2 separate regions of the Homo sapiens genome follow, and region 2 is linked to region 1. The links are contacts of gene promoters, found by promoter capture Hi-C in human tissues and cell types (Jung and others, 2019). All regions are on one chromosome and are shown on one strand. The core of a region is centred on a gene start or on the middle of the fragment in contact, and the rest is flanking DNA. Distances in the headings are between cores, read along the strand shown.

What was found. The method cuts DNA at HindIII sites, captures the fragments that hold promoters and counts their contacts. A contact is called where the count stands out against the background at its distance.
Region 2: a contact is called between a fragment that was not itself captured here and the fragment with the promoter of XYLT1 in region 1, in 1 of the 25 tissues and cell types used here (lymphoblastoid cells).

Annotation. Positions count from the first base shown.
Region 1 is chr16:17,467,867-17,473,519 of GRCh38, forward strand. XYLT1 (xylosyltransferase 1) reads right to left here and starts at 3,094. Exons shown (of 12, transcript NM_022166.4): 1 at 2,568-3,094. The coding sequence starts at 2,930. LOC107987234 (a long non-coding RNA gene) reads right to left here and starts at 2,561. Exons shown (of 2, transcript XR_001752091.2): 1 at 1-2,561. It overlaps LOC105371106 (a long non-coding RNA gene), which reads right to left. Exons shown (of 3, transcript XR_933144.3): 3 at 3,141-4,238. RefSeq lists enhancers at 209-278, 1,874-2,143, 2,264-2,313, 3,088-3,589. The HindIII fragment of the contact is 9,248 bases long and covers 1-4,156 here.
Region 2 is chr16:16,842,431-16,848,879 of GRCh38, forward strand. No RefSeq gene overlaps it. Among named protein-coding and RNA genes, the nearest start is that of NPIPA7, 470 kb to the left of the region's middle. The HindIII fragment of the contact is 4,050 bases long and covers 1,427-5,476 here.

The DNA of each region.
Region 1 (5,653 bases), core at 1,844-4,343:
CAGAGCACTGAGCTAAAGCATCTTCTTCTAAGCATGTGTCTAACCACCTCTCTACAAGAGCCATCTGGAAAATCACGGGGATTTGTTTCTTTAAATGTCCCACTCCTGAATCTCCCTCCAAAGCATCATCCTGGCAGCCTCCGCAGGGTCTGGAAACAAACTGCACATTTCAACGGCCTCTATTGCTTGCGAAAAGGTCTGGTCCTCTCCTTGCCTGCAACCCAAGCTCCAGCTATACCAGACTTTGGGAACAGCCTGCCCCCTTCTGGTCTCCTGGAGCTCCATGGAAGGGCAGGAACTGGGTGGGCACAGTCAGAGTAGGACAGACCCCGGGCTCCAGCCAGCCTGTCTGTACTGTGATTTCAGGATTTAGCAGGTCATGGAGTAGGTGTGGGGGGAGAGGAAAGAAAGGAGACAAGCAAATGAAATAAAATACAAAGCCCCAAGAGACAACAGTCAACAGCATGGTAGACAGCCACCAAGAAGAGAAGAGAACCAAAAGAAAAAAAAAATACATAAATGTCCATCTTGGAAGGTAAAGAAATTGAGACATTAGGACATGCAGATTTGGGGAGAGTAACTGAACTTGCAGTTGGAAGCAGAGTTTCAGAAAAGCAAAGCACCTCCGCTGCTGGAACTGCAATTCCAAAAGGAAGTAAAAAGGAAAATAGTGTGTTCCCACCTACCTCCCCAACCGCAGATCTCTCAGAGGCTGAGCTGGGTGTGAGAGAGTAAAACACTGAGCCGAGCACACAGAGAGGGGCTGGGGGTGGATGCTCACAATGCCGGGGACCTATGAAGAAATCAGCTAGCCCTGCCTCCTTCCTTCTCTTCATTTGTTTCAACAGGTGCTACATGCATCCTAAAGGTACCTCCTGAACCCACTCTGACCCCCAGATGCAAATGATACAGTAAGCCCCAGGCTTCCCCCACCATGTCTCCCCTACACGTTCTTACACTGGACCAGCAGGACACGACCCACAACCCTCCCACCCCACCTCCTGGGCTCTGGATGCACAAAGAACTTCTAATTGCATTTCTGCGGGAACCCATCACTATCAACTCCAAGAGTTCAAAGGCAGCGTTTCAGAGTACCCCTCTCTGTAAAGAAGAGATCGCAGGACACTAGGAATGTTCTGGTTCTCCGTCAGGCAGCTCACGCCACTATTCTCCCCGCAAATGAGGGAAAGACTTCTCCCTGCTACCCACACAGCAACGTGAAATGCCATCACATCACGTCTTGGGACTGGCTCAGTTCTCAGGCATGAAGAGCTGCACTCCGGCAGAAAGGGTCGCACAGACTCCGAAGAAGTTTAGCAGCTCAGAAAGCATCACGCTGTGTACTAAGGCAGTCTTCAGTGAGGACTTCCAAAGTGACAAATGATAGAAATATGCATTCAGTCTTCAGGATCCTGAAACCATCCCCCTGGTGTCTAATATCCTTTAACGGCTAGGCAAATCCTTGCAGACAAGTAGTGTGATGAAGAAACAGACAGACACACAACACATTGGCTATGCCCTAAGGCAGAACTCACGCCCCTGGAGAACTGAGACCTTGGCTCTGAAATGGGGACTCCGGCCTCCTGCCCCATGTGCTCCTGCTCCTAGCTCAGTAGGCTGGGCAAGGCAGCCCAGAGAAGGTGGGAAAGGTATCCCTGGAGAAGTTAGGGACAGGGTAGGAAGACAAGTCAGTTCCCCACCCAGCCACCCAGATGGCCCCAGATCTGCGGAAAAAACAGTTTCAGAGCCCTGACTGTTCACACCCACGAAGGGCAAAGTAATCCCATAGGAGTGGAAGCCCTGACGGTGTGGTCGGACACACAGCTGGTGACCTGAACCGGCCGCAACAAGACAGAAAGACAGAGACAACCAGCTAGGAGAAGGAGCCATGCCCTGAAACTGGAGATGGGGAGGAGATAAAGTCACAGAGGGCATGGGAGACGGCAAGGTTAGAGACAGAGAAGGTGAAGACGGAAGGCTCAAACATCCAGAGAAGAGAAACAGAAGACCCAAAGTAAGACCAGACACCCCGGACTGAGTATTGATTCAGGGGCATGGTCGGGGACTTGGGACGCCCAGCTCAGCCCTCATCGCAGGCCAGGACGAACAGAGGGCTCAACTGTCTGCACCCAGCTCGGCAAAAACCAGAGAGATGCTGCTGCGACAACCGCCCAGGAACAGCGGCTGAGGATCCGGGGAGATCCACTCACTCAGGCAGGGAGCGAGTCACCAAGACCTACACGCACGGAGCAAGTCACCTGGGGTCCCCAGCAAGAGTGATGGGGAACAGGAACCCAGCCAGGCTCCGGTAACCCCCAAAGCGCCCCCGCTGGAGAAAACTTCCCCCAGACCCCAAGGGGTCCGTGCTCAGACTCTGAAAGGGGCAGCCCACGACCCCTGAGCCTTGGCAGGGACCCCACCCGGCTTCCCGGGGCAAGAGGCGATGTGGAGTCGGTAGGCTTGCAGAGTCCCAGTCTGATGACCGAGTTCAAGGGCTAGGGGGGCGTGGGGTCGGGCTGCCTTCCTCCCTCCCTCGCCGCGGGGCGCGAGCCGAAAGGGCATCTTACCAGAGCCCGGGCGGGCAGTGCCCCCCGGCTGGCCGGCTGCTGTCCCCGCGGTTCTCCGGGGCCGCCTCCCCGCGCCCGCGCCTGGGGCCCCCGTCCTCCTCCTCCTCCGCCGCCGCCTCCTCCTCCTCCTCGGGCTGCAGCCGGCTCGGCGGGCAGGTCCCGGCGCTCCCGGCGCGGGGCCGGGGCCGGGGGCGGCTGCTCCCCGCCGCCGACCGCTGCGCCCCCGCGGCGCTCCCCGGCCCCGGAGTCGAGGCTGCTGAAATTCCACACGACCAGCGTCTGCAGCAGCAGCACCGTGAGCGCCGCGAGCAGCGCCGAGTGCGAGCGCCGGGCCAGCCTCCGGGCGCACGGCGCCGCCACCATCTTCGGAGCGCGGCCGGCGAGCGAGGCGCGGGGACCCCGGCACGCTCCGGGCCGCCCCCGCGCTCCCCGCAGCTCCCGCGGCCGCCGGCTGCCGCTCGGGCTCCCGCTCGGGCCGCCGCCGCCGCCCCCCTCCCCACACCCCTGTCCCCGCTGGAGGGGAGGGTGATGGGGAAGGCGCCGGGGGGACGCGGGCCGAGGCGGAGAGGGCGGGGCCTGGGGGAGGAGCCGAGGGAGGAAAAGGAGGAGGGAAAGGAAGGGGGTGGGGGCGATCAGAGAAGACAGACACCCCTCAGGACGTAGTGGGAGTAGGATGGGGGGCGAGGGGGACAATTCCCAAGGCGGAAAAAGAGAGGCAGGGGCCGCGAAACAGGGGACCTTTGGTTGAGGGTGGGCCCGCTCAGAATCCAGGGGAGGTCAGGAAGAGAGGGGGTCCCGAGGTCCTGTTTTCCCTGTGGGCCGCTGGAAGGAGGCAGTGCGTGGAGGAAGCTCCTAGCCCCGGAGTTCGCGGTCCAGGGATCTTCTGTCGGTACCAGACCGGTTGGCAGGTGGACACGTGAGAAACATTTCAGGAGTGTCAGAGCCACAGTCTGATCCCTTCATCCTGGGCTTGAAGGGGTGGGGAGGAGGCTTTGGGTGAGTTTCTGGAGTTAATCAGCACAAGCTCTGTGAGTGACTCCTGAATCACACACAATCCCCGGTGCCAACGATGTACTAAGTGTTCACTGAGTCACTTCTCTGGTCCCTGAGGACTCACAAGCCAAGAGACTCCAAACCCAGTTGGCAAGTGGTATAGCGGCAAAAGGGAGACCCGTGGAGTTACTCAACCTTCGCAGGATGCAAGCCCCAAAGGCTGGCCCCGCAGCCTCCCAGCGTGTCCTTTTCCCCATCCATCCTGAAGTCCCCCTTCCTGTCTGCACAGGGCCCAGGTCCTGGGGAAACAGGTCTTGCTCTTGAAAGTGGAGTTCTTTCCCATCCTGACTGGTCTGTCCCGGTGACCTTGAGCCAGGAGGAGGAGGACTCCTCCCTGAGCCCAAGCTTTCTCCTCTGTCGTTTAGGCAGAATGATCCCAATGGACTCAAATTTCATCCCGAGCCTTCTCTGACTCAGTCTTTCTGGTTTTTCCCTCCCTTGTCCTCTTGCCCAGGGCTTTATACACAGCAGCGCAGAACAGTGAGCATATGGGATGGCGTTGGTGTCCCATACGGGACCTAGCACTCTGGGAATACAACAGCAGATCAAATCAGTTTGTGAATTGAGGACTTGGCGTGAATGCTTCGCATCTTGTCTGCTGTGCTTTTTCACCTCATCCTAATTTACAAAGAGAAGAAAGTGGAGTGTAATGAAGGCTCATCAGACAATGAGGCAGGGAGTGGGAAGAGATTGTTTCATCCACTCCACAAGCATCCGTGAATACAAAGCTTGTGTCAGACACTGGGCCAGGTGCACGCATCCAAAGGTGAATGAGGTTTAATCTCATCTTCAGCAAGCCTGAGGTCTAGAGAAGCCTGATGTGGATGTTAATCATTAAAATATAGTGAGATAGGCCTGGGCGCGGTGGCTCATGCCTGTAATCGCAGCACTTTGGGAGGCCAAGACAGGAGGATCACCTGAGGTCAGAAGTTCGAGATCAGCCTTGCCAACATGGTGAAACCCCGTCTCTACTAAAAATACAAAAATTAGCCGGGCATGGTGGCACACACCCCTGATCCCAGCTACTCAGGAGGCTGAGGCAGGAGAATCTCTTGAACCCAGGAGGCAGAGGCTGCAGTGAGCCGAGATCACACCACTGCACTCCAGCCTGGGTTACAGAGCAAGACTCCATCTAAAAAACGTATATATAAATATATATATATTGTATATATATATATTATATATAATGTATATAATAAATATATTATATATAATATATTTATATATATGTACATATAATATATATAATATATAATATATAACATATATATAATATATATATTTATATGTAAATATATATAATATTATATATATATATATGGTGAGATAAGCATTGCTGTAGAGATGTGCAAAAATGCTAAGGGTTCATGAGGGCAGGACGGGAGTAAGCGCCAAGAAAAAATGCTTTCTGAACCCATGTAATTAGCCAGTCCACTTGCCTGAACAAGAAAAGTATAAAATGTATGCTAGTGGGGGTTGTAAACTCCAAACCAATCAACCTTAGTTGTATCTAAAGCTTAGCCAGGCATGTAGCCTGGCATAGAGGCCTTCCCTTTGGGCCCAGCACCCCTAACCAGGAGTAAAAGACCAGAGGCAAGTTTCTAGGGCCACCAGTCATCTGTTTATCAGTTGGGGATATTTTGTTTACAAGCAATAACATCTATTACTAACAGTAATAAGACTTAAGTCTATCTTTTAAGTCTTTTTTTTTTTTTTTTTTTTGACACAGTCTCACTCCATCACCCAGCCTGGAGTGCAGTGGTGTGATCTCAGCTCACTCCAACCTCTGCCTCTTGGGTTCAAGTAATTCTCATGCCTCAGCCTCCCGAGTAGCTGGGATTACAGGCATGTGCCACCACGCCCAGCTAATTTTTTTTTTAGTACAGACGAGGTTTCACCATGTTGGCCAGGCTGATCTCAAACTCCTGACCTCAGGTGATCTGCCTGCCTCAGCCTCCCAAAGTGCTGGGATTACAGGCATCAGCCACTGTGCCCAGCCCGGTCTGTCTTAAAAATATACTTTACTGGATCAT
Region 2 (6,449 bases), core at 2,202-4,701, 630 kb before region 1:
GATTTTGGGCTGAGGTGATGGGGTTTTCTAGATAAACAATCATGTCGTCTGCAAACAGGGACAATTTGACTTCCTCTTTTCCTAATTGAATACCCTTTATTTCCTTCTCCTGCCTGATTGCCCTGGCCAGAACTTCCAACACTATGTTGAATAGGAGCGGTGAGAGAGGGCATCCCTGTCTTGTGCCAGTTTTCAAAGGGAATGCTTCCAGTTTTTGCCCATTCAGTATGATATTGGCTGTGGGTTTGTCATAGATAGCTCTTATTATTTTGAAATACGTCCCATCAATACCTAATTTATTGAGAGTTTTTAGCATGAAGGGTTGTTGAATTTTGTCAAAGGCTTTTTCTGCATCTATTGAGATAATCATGTGGTTTTTGTCTTTGGCTCTGTTTATATGCTGGATTACATTTATTGATTTGCGTATATTGAACCAGCCTTGCATCCCAGGGATGAAGCCCACTTGATCATGGTGGATAAGCTTTTTGATGTGCTGCTGGATTCGGTTTGCCAGTATTTTATTGAGGATTTTTGCATCAATGTTCATCAAGGATATTGGTCTAAAATTCTCTTTTTTGGTTGTGTCTCTGCCCGGCTTTGGTATCAGAATGATGCTGGCCTCATAAAATGAGTTAGGGAGGATTCCCTCTTTTTCTATTGATTGGAATAGTTTCAGAAGGAATGGTACCAGTTCCTCCTTGTACCTCTGGTAGAATTCGGCTGTGAATCCATCTGGTCCTGGACTCTTTTTGGTTGGTAAACTATTGATTATTGCCACAATTTCAGAGCCTGTTATTGGTCTATTCAGAGATTCAACTTCTTCCTGGTTTAGTCTTGGGAGAGTGTATGTGTCGAGGAATGTATCCATTTCTTCTAGATTTTCTAGTTTATTTGCGTAGAGGTGTTTGTAGTATTCTCTGATGGTAGTTTGTATTTCTGTGGGATCGGTGGTGATATCCCCTTTATCATTTTTTATTGTGTCTATTTGATTCTTCTCTCTTTTTTTCTTTATTAGTCTTGCTAGCGGTCTATCAATTTTGTTGATCCTTTCAAAAAACCAGCTCCTGGATTCATTGATTTTTTGAAGGGTTTTTTGTGTCTCTATTTCCTTCAGTTCTGCTCTGATTTTAGTTATTTCTTGCCTTCTGCTAGCTTTTGAATGTGTTTGCTCTTGCTTTTCTAGTTCTTTTAATTGTGATGTTAGGGTGTCAATTTTGGATCTTTCCTGCTTTCTCTTGTAGGCATTTAGTGCTATAAATTTCCCTCTACACACTGCTTTGAATGCGTCCCAGAGATTCTGGTATGTGGTGTCTTTGTTCTCGTTGGTTTCAAAGAACATCTTTATTTCTGCCTTCATTTCGTTATGTACCCAGTAGTCATTCAGGAGCAGGTTGTTCAGTTTCCATGTAGTTGAGCGGCTTTGAGTGAGATTCTTAATCCTGAGTTCTAGTTTGATTGCACTGTGGTCTGAGAGATAGTTTGTTATAATTTCTGTTCTTTTACATTTGCTGAGGAGAGCTTTACTTCCAACTATGTGGTCAATTTTGGAATAGGTGTGGTGTGGTGCTGAAAAAAATGTATATTCTGTTGATTTGGGGTGGAGAGTTCTGTAGATGTCTATTAGGTCTGCTTGGTGCAGAGCTGAGTTCAATTCCTGGGTATCCTTGTTGACTTTCTGTCTCGTTGATCTGTCTAATATTGACAGTGGGGTGTTAAAGTCTCCCATTATTAATGTGTGGGAGTCTAAGTCTCTTTGTAGGTCACTCAGGACTTGCTTTATGAATCTGGGTGCTCCTGTATTGGGTGCATAAATATTTAGGATAGTTAGCTCCTCTTGTTGAATTGATCCCTTTACCATTATGTAATGGCCTTCTTTGTCTCTTTTGATCTTTGTTGGTTTAAAGTCTGTTTTATCAGAGACTAGGATTGCAACCCCTGCCTTTTTTTGTTTTCCATTTGCTTGGTAGATCTTCCTCCATCCTTTTATTTTGAGCCTATGTGTGTCTCTGCACGTGAGATGGGTTTCCTGAATACAGCACACTGATGGGTCTTGACTCTTTATCCAACTTGCCAGTCTGTGTCTTTTAATTGCAGAATTTAGTCCATTTATATTTAAAGTTAATATTGTTATGTGTGAATTTGATCCTGTCATTATGATGTTAGCTGGTGATTTTGCTCATTAGTTGATGCAGTTTCTTCCTAGTCTCGATGGTCTTTACATTTTGGCATGATTTTGCAGCGGCTGGTACCGGTTGTTCCTTTCCATGTTTAGTGCTTCCTTCAGGAGCTCTTTTAGGGTAGGCCTGGTGGTGACAAAATCTCTCAGCATTTGCTTGTCTGTAAAGTATTTTCTTTCTCCTTCACTTATGAAGCTTAGTTTGGCTGGATATGAAATTCTGGGTTGAAAATTCTTTTCTTTAAGAATGTTGAATATTGGCCCCCACTCTCTTCTGGCTTGTAGGGTTTCTGCCGAGAGATCTGCTGTTAGTCTGATAGGCTTCCCTTTGAGGGTAACCCGACCTTTCTCTCTGGCTGCCCTTAACATTTTTTCCTTCATTTCAACTTTGGTGAATCTGACAATTATGTGTCTTGGAGTTGCTCTTCTCGAGGAGTATCTTTGTGGCGTTCTCTGTATTTCCTGAATCTGAATGTCGGCCTGCCTTGCTAGATTGGGGAAGTTCTCCTGGATAATATCCTGCAGAGTGTTTTCCAACTTGGTTCCATTCTCCACATCACTTTCAGGTACACCAATCAGACGTAGATTTGGTCTTTTCACATAGTCCCATATTTCTTGGAGGCTTTGCTCATTTCTTTTTATTCTTTTTTCTCTAAACTTCCCTTCTCGCTTCATTTCATTCATTTCATCTTCCATTGCTGATACCCTTTCTTCCAGTTGATCGCATCGGCTCCTGAGGCTTCTGCATTCTTCACGTAGTTCTCGAGCCTTGGTTTTCAGCTCCATCAGCTCCTTTAAGCACTTCTCTGTATTGGTTATTCTAGTTATACATTCTTCTAGATTTTTTTCAAAGTTTTCAACTTCTTTGCCTTTGGTTTGAATGTCCTCCCGTAGCTCAGAGTAATTTGATCGTCTGAAGCCTTCTTCTCTCAGCTCGTCAAAATCATTCTCCATCCAGCTTTGTTCTGTTGCTGGTGAGGAACTGCGTTCCTTTGGAGGAGGAGAGGCGCTCTGCGTTTTAGAGTTTCCAGTTTTTCTGTTCTGTTTTTTCCCCATCTTTGTGGTTTTATCTACTTTTGGTCTTTGATGATGGTGATGTACAGATGGGTTTTCGGTGTAGATGTCCTTTCTGGTTGTTAGTTTTCCTTCTAACAGACAGGACCCTCAGCTGCAGGTCTGTTGGAATACCCTGCCATGTGAGGTGTCAGTGTGCCCCTGCTGGGGGGTGCCTCCCAGTTAGGCTGCTCGGGGGTCAGGGGTCAGGGACCCACTTGAGGAGGCAGTCTGCCCGTTCTCAGATCTCCAGCTGCGTGCTGGGAGAACCACTGCTCTCTTCAAAGCTGTCAGACAGGGACACTTAAGTCTGCAGAGGTTACTGCTGCCTTTTTGTTTGTCTGTGCCCTGCCCCCAGAGGTGGAGCCTACAGAGGCAGGCAGGCCTCCTTGAGCTGTGGTGGGCTCCACCCAGTTCGAGCTTCCCGGCTGCTTTGTTTACCTAAGCAAGCCTGGGCAATGGCGGGCGCCCCTCCCCCAGCCTCGTTGCCGCCTTGCAGTTTGATCTCAGACTGCTGTGCTAGCAATCAGCGAGATTCCGTGGGCGTAGGACCCTCTGAGCCAGGTGTGGGATATAGTCTCGTGGTGCGCCGTTTCTTAAGCCGGTCTGAAAAGCGCAATATTCGGGTGGGAGTGACCCGATTTTCCAGGTGCATCCATCACCCCTTTCTTTGACTCGGAAAGGGAACTCCCTGACCCCTTGCGCTTCCCAGGTGAGGCAATGCCTCGCCCTGCTTCGGCTCGCGCACGGTGCGCACACACACTGGCCTGCGCCCACTGTCTGGCACTCCCTAGTGAGATGAACCCGGTACCTCAGATGGAAATGCAGAAATCACCCGTCTTCTGCGTCGCTCACGCTGGGAGCTGTAGACCGGAGCTGTTCCTATTCGGCCATCTTCAAGCTTAATTCTTTTCCACTGCTACATAATAGTCCACTGCACGGATAACTTAAAATCCGCTATAGGGATTATTTAAGTGTAGACCATTTTGATGTAAATTTAAGTTACTTTATTTCTTTTGCTTTTATATTAGCAATGCTTCAATATTAGCAATGCTGCAATGAATAGCACTGTGCATACGTCATTGTGATGGTTAATTTTATTTGTTAACTGGGCTAAGGGATGCCTAGATAGCTGGTCAAACATTGTTTTGCAGTATATCTGCTAAAACATTTCCAAAAGAGATTAGTGTTTGCATCAGCAGACTGAGTAAAGAAGATGGCCCTCAGCAATGTGGGTGGGCATGGCGTAATCCGCTGAAGGCCCAGATAGAAGAAAAAGGCGGAAAAAGGGTGAGTTCTCTGTCTTGTTGAGCTGCTACATTCATCTCCCACCCTTGGAGACTGGAGCTCCTGGTTCTCAGGGCTACAGGCTCTGGGACTTACACCAGTGGCCTCCCCAGTTCTTGGTCTTTGGACTTGGACTGAATGACATCACTGGCTTCCTGGGTTCTTCAGCTTGCAGATGGCAGATCATGGGACCTCTGGGCCACCACAATCATGTAAGCTAATTCCCATAATAAATCTTTGCCTATATATACTGTATTGATTCTCTTCCTCTGGAGAACCTTGAGCAATACAGTCATTTTGCTCCTATGCAGTTATACTGTAGAATAAATTTCTAGAAGGGAATTTGCTGGGTCAAAAGTTATGTGCTTTTATAATTCTGATAGCTATCGACAAATTTCTCATCACAGAGATCATACCAATTTGTTCCTCAATCAATAATGTATAAAAGAGCTTTGTCCTCCTACACAGGGTATGATCAAACTTTACAATTCTTGGCACTCTGATAAGGCAGAAATGGCCTCATTATGGTTTTAAGTGGCATTTCTCCTTTGTGAGTAAGCTAGCATCTTTTCTTATATAGAAGAGTCTTTCGTATTTCTTTCTCTCAGAAAAGTATCCTTATAGACTGTGAAAGGGCATAACTTAAAACATTTTTATTTATTTATTTTTAATTATTATACTTTAAGTTCTAGGGTATATGTGCACAATGTGCAGGTTTGTTACATAGGTAATACATGTGCCATGTTGGTTTGCTGCACCCATTAATTCGTCATTTACATTAGGTATTTCTCCTAATGCTATCCCTCCCCCATCCCCCCACCCCATGACAGGCCCCAGTGTGTGGTGTTCCCCGCCCTGTGTTCAAGTGTTCTCATTGTTCAATTCCCACCTATGAGTGAGAACATGCAGTGTTTGGTTTTCTGTCCTTGTGATAGTTTGCTCAGAATGATGGTTTCCAGCTTCATCCATGTCCCTACAAAGGACATGAACTCATCCTTTTTTATGGCTGCATAGTATTCCATGGTGTTTATATGCCACATTTTCTTAATACAGTCTATTATTGATGGACATTTGGGTTGGTTCCAAGTCTTTGCTATTGTGAATAGTGCCGCAATAAACATACGTGTGCATGTGTGTTTATAGTAGCATGATTTATAATCCTTTAGGTATATACCCAGTAATGGGATGGCTGGGTCAAGTGGTATTTCTAGTTCTAGATCCTTGAGGAATCACCACACTGTCTTCCACAATGGTTGAACTAGTTTACACTCCCAACAGTGTAAAAGTATTCCTATTTCTCCACATCCTCTCCAGCATCTGTTGTTTCCTGACTTTTTAATGATGGCCATTCTAACTGGTGTGAGATGGTATCTCATTGTGGTTTTAATTTGCATTTCTCTGATGGCCAGTGATGATGAGCATTTTTTCATGTGTCTGTTGGCTGCATAAATGTCTTCTTTTGAAAAGTGTCTGTTCATATCCTTTGCCCACTTTTTGATGGGGTTGATTTTTTTCTTGCAAATTTGTTTGAGTTCTCTGTAGATTCTGGATATTAGACCTTTGTCAGATGGATAGATTGCAAAAATTTTCTCCCATTTTTGTATGTTGCCTGTTCACTCTGATGGTAGTTTCTTTTGCTGTGCAGAAGCTCTTTAGTTTAATTAGATCCCATTTGTCAATTTTGGCTTTTGTTGCCATTGCTTTTAGTGTAACTTAAAACATTTTTAATAGATGTTTTTATATTTTTCTAGTGAATCCACTCCATGACATCACCTTGCCTTCCTCTTTTTTTTTTTTTTTTTTTTGAGATGGAGTCTCACTTGGTCGCTCGGGCTGGAATGCAGTGGCACGATCTCAGCTAACTGCAACCTCCGTTTCCTGGAGAATCAGTGAACTGATTCTCCTGTCTCAGCCTCTTGAGTACCTTGGATTA